Regions from separate parts of the Homo sapiens genome. Here all the other regions are linked to region 1. Evidence: promoter capture Hi-C in 16 types of primary human blood cells and fetal thymus (Javierre and others, 2016). All regions are on one chromosome and are shown on one strand. Each heading gives the region's core, a stretch centred on a gene start or on the middle of the fragment in contact. The rest is flanking DNA. Distances are from core to core; before and after follow the strand shown. Region 1 holds the start of KCNF1 (potassium voltage-gated channel modifier subfamily F member 1). Region 2 overlaps GREB1 (growth regulating estrogen receptor binding 1). Region 3 overlaps GREB1 (growth regulating estrogen receptor binding 1). Region 4 has its middle 7.4 kb from the start of GREB1.

Region 1 (3,045 bases), core at 228-2,727:
TTCCTACTCTGTAGTAGCATGTCATTGTCTGATGCTAAATGGAAATGAAGTAAAATTTGTAAAACGAAGTTTCACTAAATAATACTTCATGTGATGTATTCTAATATATTCTGTTTTATGCTAACTCATTAAAGAAAAAAGAATACTGTCAGTGACCCAGTAAATTGATTTCATAATCCATTAACGGACATGTCCTTAAGTTTTAAAAAACCCAGCCTACAGAATACATTTTTAAATAGACTTTATATTTTAGAGCACAATTCAACAGAAAGTACAGAGAATTCCCACATGCCCCCTGTCTCCACAGCTCTCCCCTGCGCATCAACATCTCACACAGGGTGGGACACTTGTCATGGTGGACCACCCCACATGGACACGTCATCATCGCCCAGCACCGAGTTTGCATTAACATTCGCTCCTGGTGGTGAACATTCTATGGATTTTGACCATTGCATAACGACACATATCCGCCATTATGGTACGTTTCACTGCCCTAAAAATCCTCTGCTCTGCCTATTCATTCTTCCCTCCAGAATATTTTTAACACGATCTCGAGGCCATAGATGATATCAGTAATTTGCAGTATTGATGATAGTGGTGAACCGGAGGAGAGAGACACTGTTAGGAAGCTGCTGTAGTGGTTCAGGTGAGTGAGGACAGAAGGACAGCTGTGGCTGCAAAGGCTGGAAGAGAGGAGGGTGTGGGACACTGGTCAGGAAGAGACAGGCCTTGGTCAAGGAGTGAGGAACGGGGAAGCAGGAGCCACTGGACCCTAGGGGTCTGGAAGCTAGTGGCCTTGGTGTGGGACTGCAGAGAGATAGGAGGTGCCAGACGGCAGGGACTTCAAGGCAGAATTGAAATCTGCTGAACAGCAGGCGTCGGTCAGCTGGGACAGCCGGAAAGCTCGGGATCAGGAGGCGGTCAAGCTGAGCTCTGCTCTCATTCCGCCGCGTGACCTTGGGCAAGTCCCTTCCCTTCTACAGGAGGCTGGACTAGATGTCCTCCTTGTACAGCGTTGCGGGGAAGGTGAGACAGTGCCACCAACACAGCAGGGCATTGCTGGGTCGGGGGGATGGGGCAGGAAACGCTTCAAGGATCAGGCAGGATTTTCCTCCCACCAGGAAAAGCCGGCGCGGGTCTAAGGCCGGAGGAGGGACCCAGACATAGGAGTCACCTTCTAAGGGGCTTCCTGGAGCACATTTTCCTGCCCAGCAACAGGCGGCAGCATTCTCTCCCCACTAATCCTCTCCAAACAGCAGTGAGAGAGAATGCCTGCCGCTTCAAGCCAGGTCGCAACCCCTCGGTGACCCGCTGCGCCCGAGGAGGGGCCGGCGGTGCGCGGTGGTGGCGGCGGGCGCGGCAGCTGTGCCCGTCTGCCCAAGGGTTAATCCGTCCCCTGCAGCTGCCGCGCGTGCCTTGCAGAATTTCACCAGAAGAGGGTACAGTTTGAAAAGCTCCTGACGTCAGGCTGGAATTCCTATTGTGTTTAGAAAAGGCTCGGGCAAAGCCAGCCCAAGTTCGCTCTCTGCACACCTCGAGCACCTCGCGGACGGCGTGGGTCCGCCAGCTCCGGGACCTGCCGCCGCTGCCTGCGCGCCCCGGGGCGGAGGACGGTGCCAGCCGCCCACGAGGAGACCCCGCTCCCGCAGGAGGCCGAGCTGAAGCGGCGGAGCGCGCCGCCAGCCAGCCGGGGTGAGTGCCCCGGGCGAGGCCGGCGGCCGCCAAAGCCCCCGCGGGCTCGCCCGGGCGCCCGGATGCCAGCCCCGAGCCCCGCCGCCGGGTGCATGCCTCCCCCGCGGCGCGCCCCCGCAGGCTGCTGCCCGCTGTGACCGCCCTTCCCCGCAGGCGGGCGCCGGCCAGGCTCTCCCCGAGATCAGCGCACGGGTGGCACCCGCCGGACCCCCAGCGGCAGCGGCGGCGGCGGCTGCAGGGGGCGCGGGGCGGAGGCTGCGAGGGCGCGCGCGGGGAGGATGGACGGGTCCGGGGAGCGCAGCCTCCCGGAGCCGGGCAGCCAGAGCTCCGCTGCCAGCGACGACATAGAGATAGTCGTCAACGTGGGGGGCGTGCGGCAGGTGCTGTACGGGGACCTCCTCAGTCAGTACCCTGAGACCCGGCTGGCGGAGCTCATCAACTGCTTGGCTGGGGGCTACGACACCATCTTCTCCCTGTGCGACGACTACGACCCCGGCAAGCGCGAGTTCTACTTTGACAGGGACCCGGACGCCTTCAAGTGTGTCATCGAGGTGTACTATTTCGGGGAGGTCCACATGAAGAAGGGCATCTGCCCCATCTGCTTCAAGAACGAGATGGACTTCTGGAAGGTGGACCTCAAGTTCCTGGACGACTGTTGCAAGAGCCACCTGAGCGAGAAGCGCGAGGAGCTGGAGGAGATCGCGCGCCGCGTGCAGCTCATCCTGGACGACCTGGGCGTGGACGCAGCCGAGGGCCGCTGGCGCCGCTGCCAGAAGTGCGTCTGGAAGTTCCTGGAGAAGCCCGAGTCGTCGTGCCCGGCGCGGGTGGTGGCCGTGCTCTCCTTCCTGCTCATCCTCGTCTCGTCCGTGGTCATGTGCATGGGCACCATCCCCGAGCTGCAGGTGCTGGACGCCGAGGGCAACCGCGTGGAGCACCCGACGCTGGAGAACGTGGAGACGGCGTGCATTGGCTGGTTCACCCTGGAGTACCTGCTGCGCCTCTTCTCGTCACCCAACAAGCTGCACTTCGCGCTGTCCTTCATGAACATTGTGGACGTGCTGGCCATCCTCCCCTTCTACGTGAGCCTCACGCTCACGCACCTGGGTGCCCGCATGATGGAGCTGACCAACGTGCAGCAGGCCGTGCAGGCGCTGCGGATCATGCGCATCGCGCGCATCTTCAAGCTGGCCCGCCACTCCTCGGGCCTGCAGACCCTCACCTATGCCCTCAAGCGCAGCTTCAAGGAACTGGGGCTGCTGCTCATGTACCTGGCAGTGGGTATCTTCGTCTTCTCTGCCCTGGGCTACACCATGGAGCAGAGCCATCCAGAGACCCTGTTTAAGAGCATCCCCC
Region 2 (3,131 bases), core at 538-3,037, 630 kb after region 1:
TGAGTTTATTATCTCATAACTTGAAGAGACCTGTAAGACCTTCTCTATGAGTCCTGCTGGTTTTGATCTAGCTGGATGTTGCAACTGGGAACCCCAGAGCGCTGTGTTCTCAGCACCTCGTGGGCCTCGGTGTCCATGTTCGTGTGCAGGGGTGTTGAACCCCTGATGTGTGCTGCTGGGTGGTGTGAAGAAATGGGTATTGACGCCCGTCTGTGAATGGACCGGGGAGTGGGGAGGAGTTGGGTCTGAAGGGTAGGCAGTACACGGAAGCTGTGGCTTTATTTTTCTGAGCAAAATGATGAGTGTACAGCACCCAGGAGCACCCAGAGCCAAGTGTTATCTTAGGAAGTGAGTTCCAGCCCATTCTGGGACTCAGCGCTGTTGTTGACAGATGGAGGCTTCATTTAGACAGAGGTGCCTCATTGCATGATTGGTAACAGGTGGAGTGAAGGGACCTCAGAGAGGAGTAGGAAAATCATTCAGACCCCGATTTTAGTTGGATGCTTAACCCCTCTAGTCTGAGAGCCTTTTATTTATTTGTTTGTTTGTTTATTTTGAGATGAAGTCTTGCTCAAGTTGCCCAGGCTGGAGTGCGGTGGTGTGATCTCGGGTCACTGCAAGCTCCGCCTCCCAGGTTCACGCCATTCTCCTGCCTCAGTATACCGAGTAGCTGGGACTACAGGCTCCCACCACCATGCCTGGCTAATTTTTTGTATTTTTTGTAGAGGCAGGGTTTCACCGTGCTAGCCAGGATGGTCTCGATCTCCTGACTTTGTGATCTGCCCACCTCGGCCTCCCAAAGTGCTGGGATTACAGCCGTGAGCCACTGCGCCCGGCCGAGCCTTTTAAGAGAAATCCATTTTTCACCTGTGGGCAAACTTTTGGCTGTTCTATTCTAAGGAGGGAAGAGGAGGGGAGGGGTCGCTCTAAGGAGAGGCCAGGGCAAGAATGTTTTCCTTGGAATGGGCTGGAGCCAGAAGGCTCCTGCTCTCATCCCCAGGGAAGGGCCCATGGTGCTGAGGGTGCAGGTGGAGGAGCCAACGCTGGCCGCCTGTCTGTCCTGCCCCCCTGTTTGCCTGCTCACCTCCACGCAGGAGATGGGTCTGCAGGCCACATTCTTAGAATGCTCTTGGGTTTGTTTGTGTTTTTTTAATTGAGACAAAGTCTCACTCTGTCACCCAGGCTGGAGTGCAGTAGTGCGTTCTCAGCTCACTGCAACCTCTGCCTCCCGGGGTCAAACGATTCTTGTGCCTCAGCCTCCCGAGTAGTGAGGATTACAGGCGCCTGCCACCATGCCCAGCTAACTTTAGTATTTTTGGTAGAGACAGGGTTTCACCATGTTGGCCAGGCTGGTCTCGAACTCCTGACCACAGGTGATCCACTCGCCTCGGCCTCACAAAGTGTTGGGATTACAGGTGTGAGCCACCGGCCCGGCCTGCTCTCGGTTTTCTTTGTCTGGCTAGAAATGTGTCTTTTTAGATGAGGCTAAAAAATGTGTCCCGGGCTGGAGGGCAATGGCACGATCTCGCTCACTGCAACCTTCGCCTCCCAGGTTCAAGCGATTCTCCTGCCTCAGCCTCCGAGTAGCTAGGATTACAGGCACCCGCCACCTCACCTGGCTGATTTTTGTATTTTAGCAGAGACGGGTTGCATCATGTTGGCCAGGCTGGTCTCGAATCTCCTGACTCAGGTGATCCACCTGCCTCAGCCTCCCAAAGTGCTGGGACTACAGGCATGAGCCACTGCACCCGGCCAATCAGCAACTTTCTATGGCAGCTCCCCTTTTGGCAAAGCACCATGACAAAAGAACCCAAGGCAATCCTTTTCCTAACCCAAAGTTTGGAGCATGGCTGGACAAGTGAACACCATTTTTAAAAAGCAACTTAAAAAAAATGCATCCTTTTCTGAAGGAAAAGGGATTAATCTTTCCAATGAATCTTTGCTTTCAGTAAAGCATACTGAGGGCCATCATTGGACATTCTAAAATTGTTCCAAATGTGTGACCTTGGACAAGTCACTTGAATGTCACCCAGCCTCAATTTCCTAATGTGTAAAATGAGAACCACGTTACCTAAGTTTTAGGACTGTGATGAAGATGAAGTAAGGTTACAAATGGAAAGCAAGAAAAATCTCTGCACAGAGTGATCCTGACAGATAGCAGCTGTTGATTATACTTAAAATGTTTGGGGTTTGTGTCGCTAAAGAAAATAACAAAGATAGCCGGGCGCGGTGGCTCACGCCCGTAATCCCAGCACTTTGGGAGGCTGAGGCGGGTGGATCACTTGAGGTCGGGAGTTCAAGACCAGCCTGACCAACATGGAGAAACCCCATCTCTACTAAAAATACAAAATTAGCCGGGCATAGTGGTGCACGTCTGTAGTCCCAGCTACTCGGGAGGCTGAGGGAGGAGAATCGTTTGAACCCAGGAGGTGGAGGTTGCGGTGAGCTGAGATCGTGCCACTGAACTCAAGCCTGGGTGACAGAGCGAGATTCCGTCTCAAAAAATAAAAATAAAAAAAAATAACAAAGATGTGAAGACAAAGAATGCTTTTACTTCCCACGCCCCCTCCCTTCATCTGCAAAACCAAGACAATAATACTTTTGTCATTGAGCTGTTGGAAGAAAATTTCCTGGCACATAGTATACAGGAAAGAAATATTGGTTTTCTTATTCCATTCATACTCTCTTTCAGTAAATAAATACACACATATATATGTATACAACATATGTCCTTACTGATTTATAAGAACATGGACCACATGTTTTTATATGCTTATATGTGGTTTATGCATGCATGGACCACAGTATATATTATTTGCCTTATAAAATATATACATACATACTTGAAGTGAATAGGTAGATGAGCTATAAACTGAAGTTTTGGTATTTTTTATGTGCTCACTTGGAATACAATGTTGTAACATACAAGCTCTGTAATAGGGACTTTACAAACTTTCTCAAGTGGTTCTGGGAGAATAGGTAGAACCTGTTCTTGAAATAATTGCAGGACTTTCTTGGCTCCCAGCATGATGAAAACCCTGCTCTGCTCAGGAGCGCATCTCGCTTTTTGTGTGAATGCAGGCTTAGTCTCCTTAGGCCAAGTCTCTAGTGCTGTCCTTTAGAACTTTAGA
Region 3 (2,903 bases), core at 318-2,817, 690 kb after region 1:
ATTGATTTGCCCATTCCTAAAACCAGCTTAAGATTGTAGAAAGAAGCAAATTTAACAAAGAAATGTATATGTTAAAATAAGATAAGGCTGATTTTCTTCTTGGTAAAAACATTGGGACCAAATGAATGGAAAACTCCTGAGCAATGGGGACACACCATTTTTAAAGTATGGGAGGTACTTTGCTCTGCTTCTGCAGATGGAAGAAGTTTATAAAATGCCATCCAAGCCACTGCACAGTGGGCACGATTTGGATGAAGTTGCCAACCCAGGTCATCCGCAGGCCTGGCACACGAACCTCTGACCGTCCCTGCGAATGCAGTGTTGGAGTGACCGACGCTCTTCTTTGTTTTAGGGAGTGGACTTATATCATGAAAATAAGAAGTACTTCGGGCTGTCGGAGTTTATTGAATCCACCCTTTCAGGACACAGCCTCCCCTTGCTCAGATACGATAGCTCCTTTGAGGCCATGGTCACTGCATTAGGAAAAAGGTACTTGTTTCTCTTCTAAGTTACTAGAAGTGCTCAGTAGCTTAAAGGGCAAGTTGAGGTGCGTTTAGCCAGCCAGGGAATTCCAGGAAGGGAGGCCTTTCCTTCCTGAGCAACTCAGTTTCTCCACTAAATGTACCCTGGTTTTTTCCTTCTCCTCTATTTGAATCCCTTTGGGTCAGCGATATCTTTGTCATCCTGTTGCTCTAGAAAATTTTAGAGATGACAATGAGCGGAAATATGCTGGAATGTGGAATTATGTTTTTGAGCCAATGGAGGGTAGGAAAATGGGAGGAAGATAACAAAGCTTTAAAAGAAACTGGAGTGATGATCATAGTCAGCTTTGTTTTTATTTCCGATGCATATCATGTATTGAATGTTTATTTTGTGCCGTTCACTCTTCCATGGACTTTACTTTCATTATCTGATTTGATCCTCACTGCCTCTCTGAGCCACTTGCTACTGTTATTCATACTTTGCAAATGAAGAGGCTGAGGCTTGGAGAGGCCCCATAGCTTTCTCAGGCTACGTGTCTAGCAAGTGACAGAACTGGGTGAGAACCCAGAGTCAATCTGACTGCACAGCCAGCCCCTTTAACCCTGTCGCAACAGACCTCATTTTATAGATGAAATTGAGGCTCAGACAGGCTAAGTGATTGCCAGGGACCACATGGTTTATTCGTGGTAAAGCCAGGCCAAGTTTTATAGACGATCTAATGCAAAGCAAAATGCCACTGAACAAAATACCACTGATTGTCAGCATGAGCTGGTTTCTACCCGCTTTTCTTACTGAACCTCATTCTTCTCATTTGCAGACCAAGGGATGAAGTTAGACATATCCTTCTCAAGCTATGTTCCAAGGTATACTGCTTTGGCTGGATACTAATAGCTATTAAGCATAAAGGGGTTCCATGGTCAAACGTGTCTGAGAAACATTTAAGGAAAGGACTTCTTTTCCATGAGAGTTCTTGGAGCCTTCAGCACATCCATGCATGCTGTAATTCTCCAGAAGGCTAGAGATGTGTCCAGTAGCTCGTGGGACTAGAATTTCCCAGAACACTCTTGCAGAAACTAAATCTCTTAGATACTGTTCGGTTCTGTGATACTGATAGAAATTAATCAGGTCAGTTCTCCAGCACATGGATCGACAGCTGAGCTCTCATCAACTGGCTGCATGAAGTAGCCCTCCAAGATTTCACATTGAGGCAAGAAAACCGGCCTTTGCCCTTCCTCTGCTTCTCCTCAGACAGTGAGCACACATGATGTGTTTAGTATGTTGTAGACACTGGGCTCAGCACTCTATATTTATTACCTAAAATAATCCTCACAGTGACACAGTGAGATAGGAAATACTGTTATCTCCCTTTTTCAGATGAAGAAACTGAGACTTAGAGAAGTTAGGCTACTTGTCCAGAGTCACATGGGGGGTTTATAGTGAAACTGGACCCCAACCCTGCTTGCTTGGCTCCAAAACCACGTAGCCACCAAGCCACATTGACCAAAGTCTCACAGCTAGTAAAGGGTGGGCTGTGACCACCATGCCAATACATCTTGGTTTACCCTCTATCAGTTTTAACCTTGGCAAATCATCTAACCTGTCTAAACTTCTGTACCCTGACCTGTAGAAATCCACCTTGCTGGTGGCTTCTTAGAGTTTCATGAGCTAATGTACGTGTGCACATTCAGTAACAGTTGCATGCTGAGAGCTCAGGCTCCAAAATCATCCTTCCTGGGTTTGAATCCTGAATCTGCCGTTAACCAGCTGTGAGACTTTGAGAAAGTTTCTCGATTTTCTTTGGGGATGATAACACCTACATCATAGAGGTACTATAAGGATTAAATGGATTCATACACCTAAAGCTTTGGAAACAGGGCCTGGCACACATTACATGCTTCTGTTGGCTGCTAGCACCACCACCTCCACCACTATTCACCATCATCATCCTCTCTTCTCTCTCCCCCTCTGCTAAACTAGAAGTGTTGCAGAGATTAAATCTTATGTCTCACTGGGTGAAAAGAGAATTTCAAACCCTGGATTGTTGAAGTATGGAGAATCATAGGAACTTCTAGGAATTATTTGGCCCAACCACCTCATTTTATAATTGTGGGAACTGAAGCCGAGTGGGAGAGTGATTTGCCCGACTTCATGCAGCCTGTTGGTGGCAACATGGACTGCAGACAGGTTTGACATCTTTCCACCATACCGCACTGCCTTTACTAGGAATCATTTGTCTGGAGAACTCTCTTGAAACTGGTAATTTGAACAGAAGGAGATAAAGGTTAGAACATGGGGTTACTGCTTCTTGCCACCATGTGTGTGGTCCGACTGTTAGTCCTCTATGTGCCATAAACGCCAGCATACGGCTGGGAAAACTGCTTGTAGGACTGTCAGTTGGACACAAACCTACTGTGACTTAA
Region 4 (2,776 bases), core at 138-2,637, 610 kb after region 1:
CATCCGGGCTGGGCACGGTGGCTCACGCCTGTAATCTCAGCACTTCAGGAGGCCGAAGGGGGTGGATCACTTGAGGTCAGGAGTTCAAGACCAACCTGGCCAACATGGTGAAACCCCATCTCTACTAAAAATATAAAAATTAGCTGGGTGTGTGCCTGTAGTCCCAGCTACTTGGAAGTCTGAGGCAGGAGGATCGCTTGAACCTAGGAAGTGGAGGTTGCCATGAGCTGAAATTGTACCACTGCACTCCAGCCTGGGTGACAGAGGGAGACTCCATCTCAAAAAAAAAAAAAAAAAAAAAGGCATTCAGGTCATATTCTCTTTCCTTTTGCCTGTTTCCTTTTGGAATGACCTACTCTGTTGATTGACTTGGGCCTCAGTTGGCCAAGACATGGGAGGCTATTCTCACACAGAAATTCTACCACTCTTGGTGATAGGGAAGCACTAACTGCAGGGTGTAAGACACCACTCTCCAGGCCAGGACTGCCCTACCCAGAGACAGACCAGCCTGGCAGGATGGAGCATGAGGTCGGGGCTCCAGCAGTCAGAACTTCATATGCCTGGTTCTGAACGACCCATCTAGATTCTCCTGGCCCCGGCTCCATCCTGCTGTGAACTCACCTCCTGCCTGGACTCTCAGCATCATTGCTTTCCCCATGCTCTGCCGTGCCCTGATGGATCCTTTGTTGTAAAGCTTTGGGCTGCGTGGAGTCAAGTGCCTTCTGAATTTAACTTTGCCCGGAGAGTAACTCTGCTGTCATCTGTGGGTGGTGCTTCTAAGGCGTATTTCAGCTTGGCATAGAAGCATCAGACATTTGAGAGGGTTTCATCAAAGGCTTTCTTTTATCAATGCTAACTTAGCTTGTTCTAGTGCAAGAAAAATCCATAGAGGGCTTGAGTTCACGCAGGTTAATTATGGATAGAGCCCTAGTTTTATGAATGGTCTTAAACATTGTCCTTCGTTCTTCTGCACTCATCTTTGCCACATTTCTTTCTTTTTTACATCATACGGCACTTCATGAGACTCTGTGGCTCTAAGCTTTCTTCCTTTATATCACTAGTCCTCTTAGAGGAGAATAAGAGAGGAGCAGAATGTAGTAGAAAGATTATGAGCTTTGGATTTCAGTAAAGCTGTATTAAAATCTCAGCTTAACTACTTACTAGTTATGTGATCTTGGTTACTTAATATCTATAAGCCTTAGTTTTCTCATTAGTAAAACAAGAATTTTAGTGAAGATTAAATAACATTATGTATTCGGTACTAATTGTGATCTTATTCTCTATAGCTACTCATGCCTTCTTCCCATATCTTGTTCTCTGGGGGCAAAAACTTTAAATCCTTTTTTTTTTTTTTTTAGAGAGAGAGTCTCACCCTGTTGCCCAGGCTGGAGTGCAGTGCCGCCATCTTGGCTCACTGCAACCTCTGCCTCCCAGGTTCAAGTGATTCTCCTGCCTCAGCCTCTCGAGCAGCTGGGATTATAGGCACCGGCCACCACGACTGGCCAATTTTTGTATTTTTTTAGTAGAAATGGAGTTTCCCCATGTTGGCCAGGCTGGTTTCAAACTCCTGACCTCAAGTGATCCACCCACCTCAGCCTCCCAAAGCGCTGAGATTATAGGCATGAGCCACCGCTCCCGGCTTCAATCCTTTTAACTGATTCTTTTGGTAATTATCTTGATATTTCTAAATAACATATTTTGCTACTTCTTGATTTTTGAATTTTAGGTAATATTCTTAAGCTTTCTAATATGGAAGATAAGGATGTTGCTCTTTTTCACACATGCCTCATCCTCCCTACACAGACACCCACATCCTGCCCTCCATCCTTCCACTACAGTTATTTATGATTTAGATAGCCCAATTCAATGTATACATCACTATAGTCATGTAAACACTTGGACAGCAGAGCCATGTAGTGTACTACTATTAGTTTTTTGTCCTGAATAGTTTTTTGCTTTCCCTGAAATTAGTCATTGCTTATTTTTTGAATGCACCTATTGCTATCATGCGGTCAAAAAAAATGGGGAAGTGATAAGTGCTACTAGTCATATTATTAGAAAGAAAGAGGCATGTCACTTCTTCAAGGGAAAAGATATTTTCTCATGGCATTAAATTCTCAAAGTAACTTTGGTTGTGGGACCTCATATAAATGATACAGTGGACTTAATTTGTTAGGAAATGCCAAAGCCAATTCCATATGGCTGTTTTCTGTAATGGTTTCAGAAAATAACCAAGGTAATAACATTTCAGTGCAACTTTGGAAAGATAACTTCACGAGGGACCGAGCTGCTCAGCCTAAAAATGCTTTGTGGGGAAGCTTGGTCCCAGAGTGGGACCTGGGCATCTGGTGGATTGGCTGGACAACCCATCCCCTGGACAGTCTTTCCTGAAGGCCAGCCTCTCCAAATAGCAAGACTGCACTCATTCATTCAACCAGGAGCTATTCAGTGAGGCAGCCAGGCACTGCCTAGGCTCCATAGATTCTATAGTAAAACAGATGTGGACTCAGCTCTCATGTAGTTCAGGGTCCTACGGGAAGACAGACACTGAAGCATGAAGAGCTGGTGTGACGGGTGCTCCAAAGGAAAAGTGCAGGAGGCCTGGGAGGGCGCCACACTTGACCCTAATCCCAAAAGCATTCTAACAAAGTCCCCCACATTTGTTGTTCTGCTGATACAGATCCTCAAACTGCTTTAAGACCTATCAATATCCCTAAGTCCCTTAATTTCCTTTCCCTTTAACTTTTTTGAAGGCTTTTCTTCTTTCTGCACTGAC

What was found. Contacts are between HindIII fragments. The CHiCAGO score rates a contact against its expected background, and 5 or more counts as called.
Region 2: a fragment that was not itself captured here is called in contact with the fragment with the promoter of KCNF1 in region 1 in 1 of 17 cell types (erythroblasts); the score reaches 5.2 in erythroblasts.
Region 3: a contact is called between a fragment that was not itself captured here and the fragment with the promoter of KCNF1 in region 1, in 2 of 17 cell types (erythroblasts and endothelial precursors). The highest score is 6.4, in erythroblasts.
Region 4: a fragment that was not itself captured here is called in contact with the fragment with the promoter of KCNF1 in region 1 in 1 of 17 cell types (erythroblasts); the score reaches 5.0 in erythroblasts.

What each region holds. Positions count from the first base shown.
Region 1 is chr2:10,910,457-10,913,501 of GRCh38, forward strand. KCNF1 (potassium voltage-gated channel modifier subfamily F member 1) reads left to right here and starts at 1,478. Exons shown (of 1, transcript NM_002236.5): 1 at 1,478-3,045. The coding sequence starts at 1,971. The HindIII fragment of the contact is 10,094 bases long and covers 1-3,045 here.
Region 2 is chr2:11,543,678-11,546,808 of GRCh38, forward strand. All of the region lies in intron 1 of GREB1 (growth regulating estrogen receptor binding 1), which reads left to right. Among named protein-coding and RNA genes, the nearest start is that of MIR4429, 4.6 kb to the left of the region's middle. The HindIII fragment of the contact is 4,331 bases long and covers 1-3,131 here.
Region 3 is chr2:11,602,054-11,604,956 of GRCh38, forward strand. It overlaps GREB1 (growth regulating estrogen receptor binding 1), which reads left to right. Exons shown (of 33, transcript NM_014668.4): 17 at 353-489. Among named protein-coding and RNA genes, the nearest start is that of MIR4429, 63 kb to the left of the region's middle. The HindIII fragment of the contact is 1,552 bases long and covers 792-2,343 here.
Region 4 is chr2:11,525,217-11,527,992 of GRCh38, forward strand. It overlaps a transcript of GREB1 not described here. Among named protein-coding and RNA genes, the nearest start is that of GREB1, 7.4 kb to the right of the region's middle. The HindIII fragment of the contact is 701 bases long and covers 1,038-1,738 here.